3 separate regions of the Homo sapiens genome follow, and regions 1 and 3 are each linked to region 2. Evidence: promoter capture Hi-C in 16 types of primary human blood cells and fetal thymus (Javierre and others, 2016). All regions are on one chromosome and are shown on one strand. The core of a region is centred on a gene start or on the middle of the fragment in contact, and the rest is flanking DNA. Distances in the headings are between cores, read along the strand shown. Region 1 holds the start of GABBR2 (gamma-aminobutyric acid type B receptor subunit 2). Region 2 holds the start of NANS (N-acetylneuraminate synthase). Region 3 holds the start of GALNT12 (polypeptide N-acetylgalactosaminyltransferase 12).

Region 1 (4,688 bases), core at 982-3,481, 650 kb after region 2:
CAATACTTGGTGATGATGCAAGCAGGGCTGCCCTATCTAAAAATGTGTTTGTCCCCAAAAGACCGGCTTTGCAGTGACCCCTCCAGAAGAATATGTGCAGTAGCAACAGAGAAACTGTCAAGAAGATATGCCTCCGTGTAACTGCATTGCTGTCTCCATTTATGTGTGCCAGACAAGTACCCCCACAGAACTTGAGATGCTCAGGCAAAGACGAGGGCGATAGGAATGTCATTCGGAAATGATTTCACACCGGGTTAGCCCTGCACAGCCAGCCAGCTTGCATCCTCTGGGGCAGAGGACGCCTCTCCGCCTGCAGCAGCCTGCGCGTACCGCTGCCAACTGCCACCGGTTCCTTCACCTTTTATTTACAGCGCAGAGCAAGCTGGTTCACCGGTGAAGCGGGGGAGGCAGGGAATAAGATACAATCTAGATTCTGCTCTTTCTCTGGGGACATAAAGAGGGTCCGACCAAGGAGGAGGGGAAGCCCAGATTGCACCACCAGAGCAGTAGCGCGACCCTCCTCCCAAAAGGGTTCTGCACCTGGACTCCAGCAGAAGCGCCCGGAGAGTCCCAGGAAGCCAGGATCAAGCCCAGCGCCTCGGCCCCGTTCCGCGCGATGGAAGAGGCGCCAACCGAGCGTACTGCACAGGAAATCACTGCCCCCTTCAGGCCGCGTCTCAGACGCTGCGGTCGGAGCACAGGGGCTCGCTCGGTCCGGAAAAACTCGCAAACCCGACCTTGCGCGGCCAGCGATCGCTCCTCCAGACCCGCTCCGCGCGCTCCAGCCCCGGCCTGGCGGTGAAGGTCCGCTCTGGGGCTTCAGGCAGAACCCAAACCGAGGGCGTGGGGAGGGGTCTTGGGATGGAAAGCCCTTGGCTCTCTGGCTCCGCTCCGGACTGCTCTCCAAGTCTGTGCTCCGGCTGCTAGGTCGGATGCTTCAAGCCTGAGCCGTGAGAAACTGCCTGCAGCCGCCCGGCCAACAGCAGCGGCGCGGCCGGACACCACTGCACGTCCGGGACGAGAACTGCCAGGGCACTTTCTGAGCAACTAACCCGAGGCAGGGGTCTCCTGAAATCGCTCTGGCCACAGGCAGCGCCGGGCACGTCCAGGCAGAAGCGCTGCAGAGCCGGTGGCCCCACACTTGCCCGCGCGGAGCGGGCTCAGAGCTGCTGGCGCGCACCAGGCGCCCAGCCACGCTGCACGCTCAAGCCCCTTGGGTTCCGGAGCCTTCCGGACCTCAAAGCGCGGCTCGGCTTCCCTGGGGGCCTGTGAGCAGGCCCGCGGCCCCTCCGGCCCTGGGTGGCCCAGTTTGCAGTCAATGCGCCTGTTCCTCCCACTCGGTACCTCGCAGCCCCATGAGCGGGACCTGGACAGGGACAATCAATGTAGGCCTTTGGGGGTCCAGCCCCCACCTTCTCCACTCCTTTTTCTCTGGTCAAAAGAGACCCCAGTCTTCTATCCCACCCCCACCCCTCCCCACACACACATACACACATAAGACCAGAGGAGGGGGTGCTTGGCAAATGTTACCAGCTGTGCCAGCCAAGCCCAGCAGGACCGCGGGGGTGAACACTGGGCACCAGCCCTCTCTGCCCTCGGCAGGCGCGGGCCGGTCAATCGGGGATCTGACCAAAGGCCGGAGGTTGCCTGTGTCCAAACCACCCACCCCAATGCCCCCCGAAGCCCCGACGGCAGGGGCAGCCGGACACTCACCTCCGTGTCATAGAGCCGCAGGTCGAGGAAGTAGGGGCGCAGGAGTGACTCGTTGCGGATCTGCTCGATGGCCAGTTCCACGGCGGGGAGCACACCGCGCCCGATGCTGCCCTTGGCCACCTCCTTGGTGAGCGGCATGAGGCCCATGATGGAGAGCGGCGGGCTGCTGGGCGGCGGCCGGGGGGCGCCCCGCGCCCAGCCCCAGGCCCCGGGCGCCAGAGGCAGCAGCAGCGGCAGCAGCAGTAGCAGTAGCAGGCGCGCGGGCGGCGGTGGCGGCGGCGGCGGCGGCCCGGGCTGCCCGGAGCTCCGCGGGGAAGCCATGCCGCGCCGCGGGCTGCGGGCGCCGGCTCACTCGGCCCGCATGGCCTGGCCCGGCCCGCCGCCCCGCGCCAAGGTCTTCCCGCGGCGCCCGCGCAATGGCGCCGGCCCGGGCCCCGGCTCCGTCTCGGGCTAGGGTTCCGGCTCGGCTCAGAACGGCCGCGGCGGCGGCGGCGGCAGCGGCGGCGCCCGTGACGGATCAATCACGCCGGGAAGGGGTGGGAGCGAGCGGAGTGCGGGAGGCGGGGAGCAAGCGAGCAAACGCGGAGAGGGGGGCCGGCGTCTCCGCGCGCGCCTCTCTCCAGCGCGGCCGCCCCGCACCGGGCCGCCTCCGCCCGCCCCCGTGCGCGCTCTGAACCGCTCTCCCGCCGGGAGCTGCTAGGCGGCAGCCCCTGGAGCTCGGCCGGGGGAGGGCGGACGGCAGGAAACGCGGGAGGCGAAGGCGAGGCTGCTCAGGGGCGGCTCGGGCCGCCTCCAGGGACGGGGACGAGCCGTGCGCGCCGGGGGAGGGGGAGGCGCTGGCGCTGCGGCGGCCGCGGGGAGGGCCACCTTCCCAGCACACGCACACACGCGCCCCCGGCCCTCCGCTGCGCCAGCTGCCGCTGCCCGCCGACCGCTGACCTCCAGGCACCAGAGCGCCCGGGGACAGCGATCTGGGAACCGGGACCGCGCGCTGGCACACGCAGTGGCCGCCGCCGCTCCGCCGAGCGCTGCCTGTAGCACCTGCACGGTGGTTTGGAACCGCTTCTCGGAGGTCTGGCCGGGAAGGTCTGGGCAGGAGAATGTTCCACGAAGGCGTCCCAGAGGCATCTGCAGCCTACGCTCTCCCGTTCTTTTCTGGCGCCCACGAGCCCCTGACCGAGTCCCGGGGGTCGCTGAAGACGCCCACGGGTGCTCGAACGCCCGTTGGTGCCAGGCTGCCCGGCCTTTAGGGCCTTGGCTGAGGACACCCCTTTCCTCCCCACCAGACGGAGCGACCGCCCTTTGCCAACCCCAAGCAAAGCTGGGGTCCCAACCTTACGTGCGCTACCGCCCCCTCCAGGCATTTGACCTCCCCGCGTCCCCATTCTTGATGGGCCCCGCCCTAGAAGTCTCCCGGGGTGGGAGCACTATCCTCAGGCCAGGGCGGGGCCGCGCGCCCCTGGACTTGGCCCTCTCTCTGCCAGGTCGCACTGGCCAATCTTAGCCAAAGCAGTCCCGAGCCAGATGTACCCGAGTGAGCTGACCTAAGACCTTGGGTTCCTTGTGCCTCTGCATACTTCAAGAATAGGAAACGTGATCATTAATCTATAAAGTCCCAGGGGCTGATTAATGCGAGGAACACAGTAGGACATCAAATCACAAAACATACTTGAGCCTGAACCAGGGACTGTGGAAGATATCGACGACCTTGTAACAAGAATGGAAGTTTGACCTTCGCTGAGTACTTACTGTGTGCCTTATGATGTAATCCCCACAACTGCCCTGTAAGCATACTGTGTTACTCACCCTTACTTTACAGGCGAATACACTGGTGCTCAGAGAGGTTCTGTAGCTAGTGGAAGCACACAGAGCTACTGAAGGACCGGAACCCAGAGCCAGCAGGAACTCCGTGCACAGTGCAGTGGGAGCCAGGGATGTGGGACTGCAAGTTTCCTCTCCAGGAGGAGCACTGCCCTGACTCAGTTGCTCTGGACATCGATTCCCTCCGGCATATGGTGAGGGATTTGGACCGGATGATGATGATGATGGCCACACACCAGCTCTACTGGAGTGAGGCAAGGGCAGCTCTGAATCCAGGCTGAGTTGTTAGGAAGCACAAAGATGTGAGTGGAGGCTGAGCAGAACTACTAGAGAGTACCTTGGACAGCGCCAGGGAAACCAGGCCAAATTCTCTCTGCCCTAACTTCTCTTTCCAGGCTTCTATAGACTCCACCTCTCCCGGCTCCACTTGGCATTTCCTTTTCCCCAAGCTGGAGGGTTTGCATGAACAGAACTCACCTGAGCATCTCCTCCAGGAAGGGAGGAAGGAAGGGAGGGAGGGAAAGAAATGGTCCAAAGGACAGTGTAATCCCCAGATACTCGCTCAACTGCTGTCTCACTTGACATCACAAATATCCTCCAGTCATAGTCTTCTGGCACCTGCCATTCCTCAAACCCTTAGCTCAGGTTTCTGAATGAACATTTTCACTTGGTTTTTTTCTTTTTTCTAATTCTTTCCTTTAGTCATTTGTGTCCTCCTTGCAAGCTGTGCCAATATAGAGTGTCCACTGACACCTACATCTGGGAATAAGTTGAAAGCTGGGTAACTTTGCCTGACATTTACTAAGGGGTTGAAGGCCCTACCTGGCATCCTGCCCTACAGCCCCTCTGTCTTCTTTTATGGTGGGGTGACCTGGCCCCAAGACGCATGACCTGGGATCTGCCCTGACCCAGGGGGCACCAATCTCACTCTCCATCAGCATGGCTCCAGGCCAATCTCTGATCTCACAGCCCACTCCTAATGCCTGGGCATCCCTCTGGTTCCAAGATCTTACTCTGGCCTGGTATTACAGTTTGGGTAACTGCATCCCTGATGTGCTTCCTGAGTCTGAGTTCCTGCCTCAGTCACCAGCCTAGAATGCATGTTCCTCCAGAGCTGGGGTCCAGCGTCTTGCTTTATAATAATCATTCATTCC
Region 2 (4,616 bases), core at 1,254-3,753:
ATCCCCTCCACATATACAAACACACACACAAAGACAAGACGGACAGAAGGCCTTCCAAACCAAGATCCCTAACCAAGAATTCCAAGAGTATTCCTTCCAAACTATCCTATTCTCCATCTGAGAAGTCTCCCCGAAATCTTACTGATTGAGGAGAAGTCTCCAGAACCAAGACTCTTCCTACTAATTAGGGAGAGTAAACCGAGACCCCTGAAGAAGCTGAACCAATTGGGAGAAGGAAAGGGGTGTTGGCAGCACCTAGACTACTCACCAAATCAGACACCCCATAATGGGGCTGCAGCTGCAGACAATCCATGATGGGGCTACAAACAGACACTGTGATAAGGTTACAGTTACAGGCACCCCATGGTGGAGCTACAGAGGGACACCTTGCCATGGAGCTCTAGTTATGAGATATCTCCCCAGGACAATTTCTCTATTGCAAAGTGTACTCCATACATATTGGGCTAGTAGTGCCCTGCCGATAGAGATGACGCCAGAGTCAGCCCCCAGTCCAAAACTAGGTGGCCGCTTGGGCTGGCCTCTGGATCCATCGCCAGAGGGGGTCTACAGAACCGGGGCAGGTAGCACAAGAGCAATCCCGAATGAGCCCCCAAATTTTTAACTGCTCAACTGGTTCACCATGCCCACTACCTACACAGCTGATTTATCAAAATAGGGGAATTGCAATAGAGAGAGTAATTCATGCAGAGCCAGCTGTGCAGTCTGGCTGAGTTTTATTATTACTCACATCAATTTCCCCTAGCATTCAGGGATCAGAGGTTTTTGGGGTTTTTGTTTGTTTGTTTTTGAAATGGAGTTTCGCTCTTGTTGCCCAGGCTGGAGTGCAATGGCACAATCTCAGCTCACTGCAACCTCCGCCTCCCAGGTTTAAGCGATTCTCCTACCTCAGCCTCCCAAGTAGTTGGGATTACAGGCATGCACCACCATACCTGGCTCATTTTGTATTTTTAGTAGAGACAGGGTTTCACCATGTTGGCAAGGCTGGTCTCGAACTCCTGACCTCAGGTGATCCACCCGCCTCAGCCTCCCAAAGTGCTAGGATTACAGGTGTGAGCCACTATGCCCCACCTTGGAGATCAGAGTTTTTAAGGATAATGTGGTGGGTTAAGAGAGGCCAGTATGCCAGGAGTGCTGATTGGTTGTGTTGGAGATAAAATCATAGAAAGTCAAGGCTGTCTTCTTGTGCCAAGTCAGTTCCTGGTTGGGGGACACAAGATCAGATGAACCAGTTTATCAATCTGGTGGTGCCAGCTGATCCATCAAGTGCAGGGTCTGCAAAATATCTCAAGCACTGGTCTTAGGTTTTACAATAGTGATGTTATCCCCAGGAGCAATTTGGGGAGGGTCAGAATCTTGTAGCCTCCAGGTGCATGACTCCTACGTGTCTAATCTTGTGGCTAATTTGTTAGTCCTACAAAGGCAGTCTAGTTCCCAGGAAAGAAGGAGGTTTATTTTGGGAAATAACTTATCTTATTTTTTAAATTAATTAATTAATTTATTTATTTTTGAGACAGAGTCTTGCAGTGTCACCAGGCTGGAGTGCAGTGGTGTGATCTGGGCTCACTGCAACCTCCACCTCCCGGGTTCAAGCGATTCTCCTGCCTCAGCCTCTCGAGTAGCTGGGATTACAGGCACGCACCACCACGCCCGGCTAATTTTTTTGTATTTTTAGTAGAGACGGGGTTTCTCCATATTGGTCAGGCTGGTCTCGAACTCCTGACCTCAGGTGATCTGCCTGCCTTGGCCTCCCAAAGTGCTGGGATTACAGGTGTGAGCCACCGCGCCCGCCCAGGTGATTGTATTTTAAGAGCCTGGGGCTGGGAGGTCCGGGTACTAGTCCCATCTCTGCTTTGGCTTTCTGGATGGCTTTGGACAAGCCAGTGCAACTTCTCGAACCTGTTGCCTCTCATATAATAGGAACCTCCGCCACTTCTTGAAAACTTACTACAAGCCAAGTATTGTGATCAGGGGTTTCTATACGTCATCTCACAGTTCTATTTTATTTTTTTGCTTCAGAGAGAAACAAAAATAACGCTCCGGAAGACTGAGTAACGTATATATGAGCAGGAGCTGGTGACTGGCATAGGCTGGACTCGATCCAGCTCTGTGATTCTAACTCTAGCAACCCTGTTTTTTCCATTACACCATAGGGCGCGCTCTCCCCATGCTCCTGAGAGCAGGACATAGACTATGCCCTGCGCAGGCAGCCGTCCGCCTCCTGCAGGGAATGCTTGCTCCTGGGTGCACGCACGGATACCGCGATGGTCCGAGACCACGCTCTGGGACAGCAAGCCTCAAGCCTCGCACAGGAGAGGGCCGCGGAGCTTCCTCGACCCGCCCCGCCGCCCTTCCCGCGGGAGGCCCCGCCCCCGCCCCCCGCCCCGATTGGCTGTCGGGAGAGAGGCGGGGCCTAGGGGATTGGCTGCCCGGCGACCGCGGGCTGACGTGGCGGGGCTGGCGTGTGGGTCTCGCAGCGTTGCTCACAGAACAGAGTAGAGGCGGCGGCGGCGGCGGCCGGACCCAGACTGGTAGTGAGGCTTTGGACCCCGAGCCGCTGCAATGCCGCTGGAGCTGGAGCTGTGTCCCGGGCGCTGGGTGGGCGGGCAACACCCGTGCTTCATCATTGCCGAGATCGGCCAGAACCACCAGGGCGACCTGGACGTAGCCAAGCGCATGATCCGCATGGCCAAGGTGAGGCGGCAGCTCCCGGGACCCGGGATTCGGGCGCCGGGAGGGGCGGGGCGGGGCCGCGGGGAGCCAGGGCCACACGGCCTCCGCGGCTGGGTACCCTGGTCCGGCCTCTTCCCGCCCGCCAGTTCCGTTTTCGGAATCCTTCGGATCCCTCTTCCTCACCGTGTCCGCCACCCTCGTGACCTTTCTGCATTACAGCAGCTGCCTCCTAACCCGACCTGTTTCCTCCCCGTTCTGGTGCCAGAATAATCTTTCTAAAAGTCAGACTTGATCAGACCATCCCCCCTGCCTGGCACCTTCTGTGGCTCCCTCCTGCCCGCGGGTAGAGTCGAAACCCTTTAACATAGCCTTCAAGATTTTAATGACTGGGCCCCTTCCAGCCCGTCATAATTCTTCTCTGACATTCTTCAGCGACACAGAGTTACTTTCAGGAATGACAGTTCCTGGAAGTTGCTGTGGTCTCTCTCACCCGCCATTCCCTGTATATGAAATATGAAGTGGTTAAAAGCCGGGCCTTTGAGTTCAAATCTCAGTTCCACCACTACTAGCTGTGTGAACATGGGCTGCTTACTTAGCCTCCGTGAACCCTTTTCCCCATTTGAAAACGGGGCTTGAAAACAACAGTTCTTTCCACATGGAGTTGTTATGGGGATCAAATGAGATTCTCAGATAGAGCTCTGAGCCCAGCACTTGGCACACATGAGTCGGTAAATGCGTGCTCCCTCTTCTGTTGGGACTGCCATATTCTTCATTACGACCCCAGCCCCCAGCATAAGGCCTGGCCTGCACTATGATTCTTTGGTTTAGAGATAGCTCACCCCATCTTTCCTTTCCCTTCATCAATGCTACTCAACTGATTTTGTATCATTTGTGATAGGTTTTTTAAATGTTTATTTATTTATTTATCTATGTTAGAGACAGGGTCTTGCTCTGTCACCCAGGCTGGAGGTTTTCTCTTACTGTTTTTTTTTTTTTTTCCTGGTTTTTTTTTTTTTTTTTTTTGAGACAGGGTCTCTGTATCACCCAGGCTGGAGTGCAGTGGCATGATCCCGGCTCACTGCAACCTCTGCCTCCCAGGCTTAAGTGATTCTCCCACCTCAGCCTCCCGAGTAGCTGGGACCCACAGGCGTGAACCACCATGCTGGGCTAATTTTTTTGTAGAGATGGGGTTTGGCCATGTTACCCAGGCTGGTCTCGAACTCCTGAGCTCAAGCAATCTGCCCACCTTGGCCTCCGAAAGTGCTGGGATTACAGGTGTGAGCCACCACCCTCGGCCCTTGCTGTTCCTTCGGGACTGGTTTTATGGAAACCTAATCACTGAATCATAAAAATACTTTACAAAAATAACATTGCTAACATTTTTTGAGTGCTTACTCTACCAGGTACTAAGCTAAATGCTGTACATGCACCATCTCATTTAATTTTTACAACAACCCAATGCCATGATGCTGCCGATTTCATTTTAAAGGCTAAGAGAAAATAAGTGACTTAGGCAAGGTCACATAGCTAGTATAATAAATACAGTAAGGGGTTTTTTCAGTTTTTGCTCCTAAGCCACAGGACTCCAGCCTTTCTTCTGCAACATTGTTTTCTAGAGGGAAATTCCCACTCTTAATTTGAAGGAGCAGTCTGTTTTTCCTCTTGGAATGCCGAAGTTGTAGAAATATCTAGAGATACTGAAGCCATAGAAACAAAGCTGTACTGACCAGGTGCAGTGGCTGATTCCTGTAATCCCATCACTTTGGGAGGCTGAGGAAGGCAGATTGCTTGAGCTCAGGAATTCGAGACCAGCCTGGGCCACATAGCGAGACCCTGTCTCTAATTCCATTGAGCTGGAATCTAGGTGGCTGCAGCCTTTAGGAAAGGGATCTGGCCAGCTCTGCTAGAGACACTGTGCAACTTTA
Region 3 (4,118 bases), core at 1,096-3,595, 750 kb after region 2:
CCTTTGCCTTACTGACACTCTCTCCACTCTGTTTTGTGCCCCGGGAGGCTGACTGTGCAGACTGTATCACTCAATCTTCTCAACAACCCTGTTCAGGTGGTGCTATCATTAGATCACCATTTAATAGATGAGCAAATTGAGCCGAGATAAGTAAAGCAACTTGCCTGAGGTCACACTGCAATTCGTGATGGGGCTGGGTTGAGCTCAGGCAAGTGGGCTCCAAGGTTGTGTTCCGACCTCCTAAGCTAAGCTGCCTTTGCATCTCATTGCAGCCTGCCCAACAGTGAGTGGTGTGGTGGGAAATCCTGGACTGTGAGTCAGGAGACCCAGATACAAATCCTCCCTCTACCGCTTGCATGTTGTGTAACCTTGGGCAAGTTGCTTCACTTCTTGAGCCTACATATTCTCATCTGTCAACCTTGCAAGGTTGTCATAGGGTGAAATGAGAAAGTACATGAAAAAGAAAGTCCAGCAGTTTACAGCACACAGTGTGTGCTCAGTAAACAATAGCTTTTATCTGTTACCTGGGGCTTAAGTCCATGTCTTGTAAGGCCTAATTGCATTTCTCTTTTCTCTGTATCTGAACCTCTATTGAGAAGCATTCCAATTTGGCAAGCGGATCCAAGACATTATGAATTGTAATCCTTGTCTGTTTTCTAATCTGACCGCAGATCTTAAATGTGTTGGGTGTCTGAACAGAGGCCAAAGGGCTCAGGTCCAGACCTACCTAACACAACCGCCTTCTGGCATTAACCAGCAGCCTCCATTCTGCGTGGGAAGCAGGCGGGGCCCTGAGCACTGTGGGAAGAGCCACTTCCCTCTAGTCTAATATTAGCAGCAGGTTGTCCTGAGTGGGAGCTGCTTTGCATGGTTCATCCCAAAACCCACCCCCCTCCTGCAACCTGAGGGAGATTTCCTCTGGGGATACCAGTAGCCAAAGGCTGTATGAAGACAACAGCAAGTCAGATTCTACCTCTACCTGAGCCGCCAAGTTCAAGGTCCTCTCCCCACCCTGTGTCTCAGACCCCGCATTTATCAATGAGATAATTGGACCAGATTTGTGCTTTTTAAACTTTCTGGGCTTCTGGTCTCCTTGAGAATATTTGATAAAAAGCTTTGGACCAACTTCCCATGGTAAAACAAACAACAACAAATAGAGCTTACACTCTATCCTTCTACAGGGGATACAGAATGATTCTTTTCCCTGAGCTAGACACCAGCAGAGGGAGTTCCAGATTAATTTAAGATATGATTTGAAATCTCTGCTATCACTTTTACATTCAGATATCTGTGTAGACATTACTTCATCAGAGAAGCTTTCCAAAACCCCCAAACTAGATCAAGTTCTACTATTCTAAGCCCTTTTAGCGCCCTGTAATTCTTCTTCAAAATACTTAACACAATTCTAATTATCTTTTTAATATTTGTCTACTCCATTAGACTTACTTCGTCCCTGGCAGCTCAAGGCTCCCACAGCAGTGATCTCATGAACAGGGCGGCAGCTTCATGGCCTTTTTTGGTTGTTGTTTAATAGAAACAGGATCTCGCTTTGTCATCCAGGCTGCAGCGCAGTGGCGCATAGTTCACGGTAACCTCCAATTCCTGGGCTCACACAATCCTCCTGCTTCAGCATCCTGAGTAGCTGGCACTATAGGCACGTGCCACCATGCATGGCTAATTCTGAAATTTTTCTGTAGAGATGGGAGTCTTGCTATGTTGACCAGTCTCGTTTTAAGCTCCTGGCTTCAAGTGATCCTCCTATCTCGGCCTGGGATTACAGGTGTGAACTATCATGTACAGCCTTCATGGCCTTTTGCTCCTAGCCTCAGAGGTCACAGAGCTATCACGAGGCGAGCCAGGCGAGGGTTTGCTATTCAAGGACTCCAAAGAGTATGGCAGAGGCTGGGCCTGCAGAAGTCAGTGGGGCAGCGTGGTGTCTGTTGATCTCATCGCACCTCCATCTCCTCATCTGTAAAAGGGAGCTCGTAATCCTAGTTGATGGTTGTTTTATTGGACTGTGTAAAGATCAGATGAGATAATGGCAGTAGAATTCATAACACCCTGCAGGGTGTATTCAGCCAACACTTAGCGCCTACAATATGCCAGGCGCTAAGGGTTTTACCACCACTATCTCTTTAATAATGCACCATAGCCCAAGAAGGAAGATGCAAGTCTCAGCCAGCCCACTTGAAGACCCTGCCGAAATGAGCCACCCCGGGGGCTGCGCTTGGGCTGGCGCGGGGCTGGACGGAAAGGGGGCGGCGCGCAGGTGGGGCGGGCCGGGGGCGGGGCGGCACGGCGGTTCCGGGATCCGGGTCCTGGCCTCCACCGCCGCCTTGGGGCGCGCAGATCGCTGGCTGCAGTTGGCGGGCGCATGTGGGGGCGCACGGCGCGGCGGCGCTGCCCGCGGGAACTGCGGCGCGGCCGGGAGGCGCTGTTGGTGCTCCTGGCGCTACTGGCGTTGGCCGGGCTGGGCTCGGTGCTGCGGGCGCAGCGTGGGGCCGGGGCCGGGGCTGCCGAGCCGGGACCCCCGCGCACCCCGCGCCCCGGGCGGCGCGAGCCGGTCATGCCGCGGCCGCCGGTGCCGGCGAACGCGCTGGGCGCGCGGGGCGAGGCGGTGCGGCTGCAGCTGCAGGGCGAGGAGCTGCGGCTGCAGGAGGAGAGCGTGCGGCTGCACCAGATTAACATCTACCTCAGCGACCGCATCTCACTGCACCGCCGCCTGCCCGAGCGCTGGAACCCGCTGTGAGTGCACAGCTCTGGGGAGGAAGCCCGCCCTCAGAGCCCCGGGCCTCAGTTTCTCCATCAGAGCAGTGGCAGGGCGGGGAGCTGGGGTCTCCAGGATGGCGCGTCTTATTGAGTCTTTCTCCGAAGACGATAGTGTAAGAGCTCACATGGGGGCGGGGAGGCAAGAAAGTAAAAAAGACGAAAGTAGAAAAAAAATTACCAGAAATTGGCAAGTCTGTTAGTGATCTCTTAGCTCCCTTCTCCTTGAGAAGTTATCATCTCCCTGAAAAGGTGAGGGTCAGGGCTAAGCAGAAGGGTTTAAGGCGAGGACCCCCCAGCACCCAAAGGACAACCCCGCTCTGCCCGCCTCGCAGTGCCTCCGCGAAACTGACAACTCCTCCGGGCGGTGACCGGCTCCATTCATTCTCTGTGTGTGCCAGGGCCTAAGGGACAAACAAGATGCGAGGGAGCGCCCCACAGGTGAAGCGAAAGATGGCTGTAAGGCCCCCTCAGCGCTAGAAAGCCTCCTTGTGCTCTCCCTGGGCATTGGATTTCTGAGCTTTGGGTGGAGGAAGGCGGGAAGGGGCACGGGGTGGGAAGGGCTCCTTCTGGCCGTGATCCACCCCAGCTCACTCCTGTGGGTGGTGCTGGACTGGAGCCAGCGTGGTCAGAGGCCTAGTTCCTGTTGGAGCTACTGGCTGGGCAGGTTGCGCCCCTGCCTAGGTGGGGATCCAGGGCACACGCTGGCAGCAGGAGGAAGGACAGGTGGCTGCTGCCACCTTTGCCGCTGGGCCTCCCGGGCTCTCACTTTTTCTTCGAAGTGTCAGGGATCTTCCAAGTCCTTTTTTGAGCCCCTTCCTTACAGACTTTGAGGAAAAGAGGACTCAGAGAGGGGGTTCCCATTGGAGCTGGTGGTGGCAGCCTGCCGTGTGCACCAGGCACCTGCCACTCCTCTCCCCTTCAAGCCATTCCTGCTTTACAGGTGTGGAAATAGGTTCGGAAAGGATAGGTGACCCACCCAAGGCCCCTCAGCTGGAATGTGGTAGGACTGGTCTGGAGGGACTATGGCCCTTCTGGCCCACTTGGCACCATGCTGATCTCAGGATTTTAGGGGCCTGCTCCATGGTACCTTGGCCAGAGAGACCATGAATGATGGAATGAGGATGCCCCACCTCTGCCCCACTGTTTCCACTGTCTTCCCTGTTTTGGGGATCTCCTCATGCCTAGCCTCATGCTTCTGCCTGAGGCATTTTTCACTGTTAGTCTTTTTGAATAAAACTTTGTTGGGATTGATAGTAGTTCCTCCACTCACCAGCCTAACGCATGTTTAGCTCCTCGAAACCCCGAGGGTGCCCGCTGAGGCAAGGTGGAGGGGAAGCTTTCAGGTTATA

What was found. The method cuts DNA at HindIII sites, captures the fragments that hold promoters and counts their contacts. A CHiCAGO score of 5 or more calls a contact.
Region 1: a contact is called between the fragment with the promoter of GABBR2 here and the fragment with the promoter of NANS in region 2, in 1 of 17 cell types (endothelial precursors). The highest score is 6.8, in endothelial precursors.
Region 3: a contact is called between the fragment with the promoter of GALNT12 here and the fragment with the promoter of NANS in region 2, in 9 of 17 cell types (M0 macrophages, fetal thymus, total B cells and 6 more). The highest score is 10.1, in M0 macrophages.

The regions. Positions count from the first base shown.
Region 1 is chr9:98,706,704-98,711,391 of GRCh38, forward strand. It overlaps GABBR2 (gamma-aminobutyric acid type B receptor subunit 2), which reads right to left and starts at 2,232. Exons shown (of 19, transcript NM_005458.8): 1 at 1,714-2,232. The coding sequence starts at 2,034. RefSeq lists enhancers at 1-429, 1,001-1,571, 3,324-3,618. The HindIII fragment of the contact is 8,458 bases long and covers 1-4,688 here.
Region 2 is chr9:98,054,229-98,058,844 of GRCh38, forward strand. It overlaps NANS (N-acetylneuraminate synthase), which reads left to right and starts at 2,504. Exons shown (of 6, transcript NM_018946.4): 1 at 2,504-2,712. The coding sequence starts at 2,581. It also overlaps a transcript of TRIM14 not described here. RefSeq lists enhancers at 2,013-2,062, 3,103-3,222 and silencers at 2,253-2,602, 2,683-2,852. The HindIII fragment of the contact is 20,554 bases long and covers 1-4,616 here.
Region 3 is chr9:98,805,325-98,809,442 of GRCh38, forward strand. GALNT12 (polypeptide N-acetylgalactosaminyltransferase 12) reads left to right here and starts at 2,346. Exons shown (of 10, transcript NM_024642.5): 1 at 2,346-2,745. The coding sequence starts at 2,375. LOC124902229 (a long non-coding RNA gene) reads right to left here and starts at 2,256. Exons shown (of 2, transcript XR_007061689.1): 1 at 1,447-2,256. RefSeq lists silencers at 2,228-2,317, 2,418-2,487. The HindIII fragment of the contact is 2,789 bases long and covers 1,315-4,103 here.